Linked DNA regions of Homo sapiens: region 1 is linked to region 2. Evidence: promoter capture Hi-C in 16 types of primary human blood cells and fetal thymus (Javierre and others, 2016). All regions are on one chromosome and are shown on one strand. The core of a region is centred on a gene start or on the middle of the fragment in contact, and the rest is flanking DNA. Distances in the headings are between cores, read along the strand shown.

Region 1 (3,068 bases), core at 402-2,901, 3.1 Mb before region 2:
GGGATAATAGGAGACAGGGATTGCAGGGATTTGCTGAGGGTGGTCCTTTAGCAAAACCCAGAGATGTGAAAGTGACCTTCAAAGATGTGGGAGTCATCTGTGCTGGTTTGGGATGCAAGAGAGAGGAGAGAGTAGGGGAGCAGGCACCTTTTCTTTTCCTTCTTATTTTCTACTTTGCTTCTCTCTCAGTGTCGTGATTTCATATCTCCTGCAAACATAACCCATCCTCCTAGGTCTTTGGCTTTAGATTATGAAGGGAGTGAGGGGTGTTTATGTGTGATGGGAAACTGAGAGAGCAATGGGACTTGATAATTTATTCCAAGTTCAAGTTGCAATGGAAGGAGGCACTGGGACAAGGCTCCCGGGCTTCTGCTGTGTACGTATTTTTCCGAAAAATAAGTCTTGGCATGGTCAGGGTGTCAGGGCCCCTCAACATGTGGCCTTGTGCTCCTAGGGAGGGGCTGGCCCTCCCCTGGCTGGGCTGCTGCCATCTGGACCAGTCATGTTCACACATGGGCTTTGGAGGTCTAGTCCTCAGCCGGTGTGTATTAGGTCACTTTTGCACTGCTATATAGAAATACCTGAGGCTGGGTAATTTATAAAGAAAAGAGATTTAATTGGCTCATGATTCTATAGGCTGTATATAGAAAACATAGCACTGGCATTGCTTCTGGGGAGGCCTCAAGAAGCTTAAAATCATGAAGGGAGTTGAATGGGGAGCAGGTGCATCACAGGGCGATAGCAGGAGCAAGAGAGCACGGGGGAGGTGCCACACACTCGCAAGAACTCACTGACTTATTGTGAGGACAGGACCAAGGGGATACTGCTAAACTATTTACAATAAATCTATCTCCATGGTCCAATCACCTCCCACCAGGCCCCACCTCCAATACTGGGGATTAAAATTCAACATGAGATTTGGCGGGAACATGTATTCAAACTATATCACCATGTGAGCTCAGAAGGCCCCTGTGTGGAGCCAGCTGCAGCAGATGCAAACTCCCTGTCCCTGGCCCTTTCCTTGGGCCTTCCCTTCCCACTTGGCCCATATCCTGCCTCCCTGCTTCCTCCTCACTGTGCTTTCACACAGGACTGTGGGGAGGGCTATGCGTCAGGGCTGCGTATACACTGCAGATGTTCATCCCAAACAGAACCCTAGGAACAGTCATGAACAGATGCTGTCTATCTGGGTATTGGCCAAGTATAATGGCTAAGTTTGTGTATCAACTTGACGGGGCTAAGAGATGCCCAGAGAGCTGGTAAAACTGTATTTCTGGGTGTGTCTGTGAGGGTGTTTCCAGAAGAGATTCACCTTCAGATTGGTGAACTGTGTAAAGAAGACCCAGCCTCACCAAAGCGGATGGGCATCAGGCAATCCATTGAGGGCCTGGCTAGAGCAAAAAGGAAGAGGTAGGGTGAGTTCCCTCTCTCTGCTTAAGTTGAGTCATCCATCCTCTGTCGTCCTTATGCATTGGAGCTCCTGGTTCATGGGCCTTCGAACTCAGAGTCTTACACCAGTGTCCCCCCAATTCTCAGGCCTTCAGACTCGACTGAGAGTTACACCATTGCCCCATCCCCCAACCATCTACCCATTTATCAGTACTCAGGCCTTTGAACTCAGACTGAATTACCTCATGATCTCATGAGTCCATTCTAATAATCAATCAGTCTGTCTACATTTATCTATCCATCCATCTATATCTATCTATCTATCTATCTATCTATCTATCTATCTATCTATCTATCTCTATATAGCTATCATCTGTATTAGTCTGTTCTCATGCTGCTTATAAAGACATACCTGAGACTGGGTAATTTATAAAGGAAAGAGGCTTAATTGACTCACACTTTAATTAGCTGGGGAGGTCTCACAATCATGGTGGAAGGCAAAGAGGAGAAAAATCTCATCTTACGTGGTGGCAGGAAAGAGGGCATGTGCAGGGGAGCTCCCTTTTATAAAACCATCAGATCTCGTGGGACTTATTCACTATCATGAGAACAGCCTGGGAAAAACCCACCCCCATGATTCAGTTACCTTCCACTGGGTCTCTCCCACAACCCATGAGAAATATTACAATTCAAGGTGAGATTTGAGCGGGGAAACAGAGCCAAACCATATCATCCTCTATCTTTCTTATTGCTTCTGTTTCTCTGGAGAACCCTGACTGACATGCAAAGTTCAAGCTGTATGGATTAAGTCCTCTTAATTGCCTTCATCATGTTTGCCCAGATTGCCTCAAGCAATGATTTCATAATCTTTGTTGGTAAATGAGGTAATCCTTGGCGGGAAGTTTTAGCCTTACTGCCTGAATTTTCTTCTCAAATGCTGTATTGTCCCTTTTCTGCTGTTTGCCACCATTTTAGCTAACTCTTCTTGACATTTTAGAGTTTATACTGTGAGCTTTTACAGGGAGGAGAGGTTCCTCCCTTCTCTTTATCTCTCCTGGGGTCATATTTGTAACTTAGCCTGTGAGAAAACCACCTCTTCTTCCTATAGCACTCTAAATTTTTCAAGTGTGTTAACATCTTCCCTTGGGAAGATGCATGAGGCAGTGGAGCACAACATTTTAAGGAGGTATAAAAGGTGGTCCACAGATCCGTGGCCAAGCTTATCTGTTTCCCTGCTTTTTCCTGTGTGACTTTACATAGGTGATTTAATTTCACTTTCCTTGTATGTCAAATTAAAACAAAAGCAATTTTACCACCTTGCATTGCAGTGCAGAGCAAGTGAGAGGCTACATGGAAACCATGCACGCAGGTTGACACACACTGAGCCAGCACTGCACACCGTGGTCCCTTCCCTTCTCCTGCATCTTCACTGGTGTGCCCTCATGCTTCCTCTTTCTCACTCTCTTTTTCTCTCTGGTTTTTATCAGTTTGTTTCTGTATAGCTGAGGAATAATGATAAAGCACTAATCTACCATTTCACTCAAGTGTAAAGCCAGAAAATCTGTTCTTACACTGATATACCAGTTCCTTATATTGATATGCTGATTTATTACATTTGTTAAATATTTTATAATTTGCAAATGCACTCATTTCTTTGCTTATTCATTGAACTCTTCATT
Region 2 (3,014 bases), core at 307-2,806:
CTCAAGCTGCTGATTTAATTCAGAGCATTTTTGAACGGAGAGCATTTGAAAGAAGAAAATGGAAATTCTCTCTGGGGAATCTCACTTTTATCTCAGCCCTGAAGAATGTCCCCACACAAAGCTATACAAAAGGAGTAGTTCACAGTCAAAAAATAAGTAAACCTACAAGGAAACAGAGAATCAGGAGAGAAAAGCAGCTGAGATCACAGAAAGCAGACACAGGCTGCAATAATGGGATTACAGACACAAACCGTGGGAGGGCAATAGTTTAATTAAAGGCAAGCTTGAAAATGCACGCAGGACCAAGTGATGGACACAGAGTGAGAGGGGTCACCCTGAGCGATTTCAAATGGGAACTGCCCAACCCGCCCCATTCCCAGGCCCTGCCCCCCACGCCCCTCCCCCCCACGCCCCTCCCCCCTCCCCCTCCCCTACACTCCTCCCCACGCCCCCCACGCCCCTCTCCACACCCCTCCCCCATGCCCCTCTCCACACCCCTCCCCCACGCCCCTCTCCACACCCCTCCCCCACGCCCCCCACGCCCCTCTCCACACCCCTCCCCCATGCCCTCCTCCACACCCGTTTCTGCCCCATGCCCCTCCCCCACGCCCCTCCCCCCTCCCCCTCCCCTACACTCCTCCCCACGCCCCCCACGCCCCTCTCCACACCCCTCCCCCATGCCCCTCTCCACACCCCTCCCCCACGCCCCTCTCCACACCCCTCCCCCACGCCCCCCACGCCCCTCTCCACACCCCTCCCCCACGCCCTCCTCCACACCCCTGTTTCTGCCCCACGCCCCTCCCCCACGCCCTCCTGGCCGTCTCTGGGGCGGTCCTGAATCGCTGCCGGCCAGGGCCCGCCCTGCCCCATAGGAAGGGACCCTGGGGGCGGGGCTGCCTCGGCTTCGCCCCCAGGAAACCACGTGGCCTGGGGCGGCCCGACGCCGGCTGCGCTGGATCCACGCCGAAAGATGGGCGCCCGAGCCGGGAGGGAAGCCTGGGGAGGACACCTGGGGGGCACGGCCCTGACCACGCTCAGACCCAAGAGGGCGGGGAGGGGCGCAGGGCGCGTGGGGGGCGCGGGCGCACTTACTCGAGCTCCTTGAAGCGCTCGCGGCCCGCCGCCACGTACTTGCCGCCCGCCTGCAGCGCGTCCAGCCCCAGCACCCGGTGCCCACGCGTGGGCGTGAAGAGGCGGCGCACGCCGAACGGGACGTCCACCTGCTCCGTGAGCTGCTCCAGCAGCGCCTCGAAGGTGGCCGCGCGGCGCCGCGACAGCACGAACTTCTTGCCCACGTAGAACGGGTCCCCGTTGCGGTACACCACGATGGTCTTGGCGGGCGTGGTGTCCACCGGCGCGGAGGGCCCGCGGGTTCCCATAGCCGCGCCCCGCTCCTCGCTCGCCGGGGCCGAGAGGCTGCGGCAGCGCGGGCAGCGACGCCTGCAGAGCCGCGCCCAGGCCCGGGCACCGCCGACGGGAGGTCCGCTCCAGCCGCTGGCGCAGGACGGGGACGGGACGGGGACGGGACGGGGGCTGGACGGGGACGGGACGGGGCTGCCAGGCGGGCGGAGGCTGCGTGTTGACGCGACCCTGGGCGATTGTGACCGCCTGGCCGCCAGGGCGAGGGGCTCGGGGCCGGGGCAGGAGACGGGGCGACGGGGAACCCGGGCAGGTGAGCAGGCGGCACGGGGCAGGGACAGGTGATTGGGTAATGGGGAGCCCAAGCAGGTGAGGCGCGGCACAGGGCGGAGACAGGTGAGGGGGCAACGGGGAGCCCGGGCAGGTGAGGGGCGTGGCGGCAGAGCTCAGGAAAAGAGGAGGAGGAGGCGGCTAGCATGATTGTGCTGAGCGCCCCGGGACGCCCACCGTGCCTCCTCCCCCTACACTCGCCGCCTTCCTCTGTAGAAGCGGTAGAGAGGAGGGTTAGGGAGGGACCAGGACCATCTTGACAATCAACATTGGATGGGTGCTGGGATCTGCTTCACATTTTTTGAGCCTCTGTTTCTTTGATCTTAGGTTGAATTTGACCGGTTCAGCCCCAGTGTCTTCCAGGACTCCTGGCCCAGAGTGGGGAATTTGAGCTTTTCCACCAGAGGAGGAGGTGTGCAGAGCCACTGGGAGGCCGTGAGGAACCGCGCTATAGCCGCTGGTGTGCGGTGTCAGGCGCGTGCCATTCAGAACGCATCCTCATTGGGGAATGATTCAAAGGGAGAGGGGGTCTTTGGAAGAATCGTTCCTACTCTGGGTAAAGATAGGCCAGTCCCCTTGAGTGATTCTAGACAGTCAGTAGGCTACATGTTACGGCTGGAAGTCCACACCGAAGGTACAGATATTGATATTATGAGTATTAATATCTTATAATGTTCAAAAAAAGTAGTTCCGTAGAGACCACCAGTCACAGCCATAGCCAGTATGTAAGCTACTAAATGCCTCATAGCAACATTAAATACAGAGATCAATTTGTGAGACGACCACTTTATTAAATCACCAGGTGTTCAAAACATTTGAAAAGAAGACTATGACTGGGAAATTACTGCTGTGTGTCCGACACCGGGGCTTTGTGTGTGTTAAGGGTTTGCTTTGAAGCTCACCGAGAACTTCAACATGGGCTTCTCCCGGGGCCTCAGGAGGCAGATGGAGCTGGGGAAGCCCCGGAGCCGAAGGCGGCTCACTCCCCCGTCGGGGACGATGGTGAGCCTGGCGTGAGTGATGACATCTTGGAGCTCTAGGGTCAGGCTATCGAACAGATGACTTTGGTTGGGAGACAACTGAAAAGCAAGCAGATGCAGAGGTCCTAGTCTGTTAACAGGACATGTGTGGCCGAATGAGCCCACGGCCCGGGCAAACCTTTGGCTTAGACTTAACCGAAGGGGCTTTAAAATAAGTTATTAATTGATGATAATTGGGCTTTCCATGAAAATCTGCTAGTAGGGATAGGATGCCCAAATAATACATGAATAAGCAGGCCCCAATAAACAATTGATGGGCAACCTAAATGCCCATCAGTTGTTTCT

Evidence for each region. Contacts are between HindIII fragments. The CHiCAGO score rates a contact against its expected background, and 5 or more counts as called.
Region 1: a fragment that was not itself captured here is called in contact with the fragment with the promoter of DCDC2C in region 2 in 1 of 17 cell types (M2 macrophages); the score reaches 5.8 in M2 macrophages.

The regions. Positions count from the first base shown.
Region 1 is chr2:6,783,684-6,786,751 of GRCh38, reverse strand. All of the region lies in intron 3 of LOC105373404 (a long non-coding RNA gene), which reads left to right. Among named protein-coding and RNA genes, the nearest start is that of LINC00487, 15 kb to the right of the region's middle. The HindIII fragment of the contact is 1,919 bases long and covers 692-2,610 here.
Region 2 is chr2:3,702,117-3,705,130 of GRCh38, reverse strand. It overlaps DCDC2C (doublecortin domain containing 2C), which reads right to left and starts at 1,556. Exons shown (of 11, transcript NM_001287444.2): 1 at 1,093-1,556. The coding sequence starts at 1,379. It overlaps ALLC (allantoicase), which reads right to left. Exons shown (of 12, transcript NM_018436.4): 12 at 2,460-2,768. The coding sequence ends at 2,568. It overlaps LOC105373393 (a long non-coding RNA gene), which reads left to right and starts at 1,631. Exons shown (of 3, transcript XR_922732.1): 1 at 1,631-1,672; 2 at 2,017-2,323; 3 at 2,492-2,571. The HindIII fragment of the contact is 3,644 bases long and covers 286-3,014 here.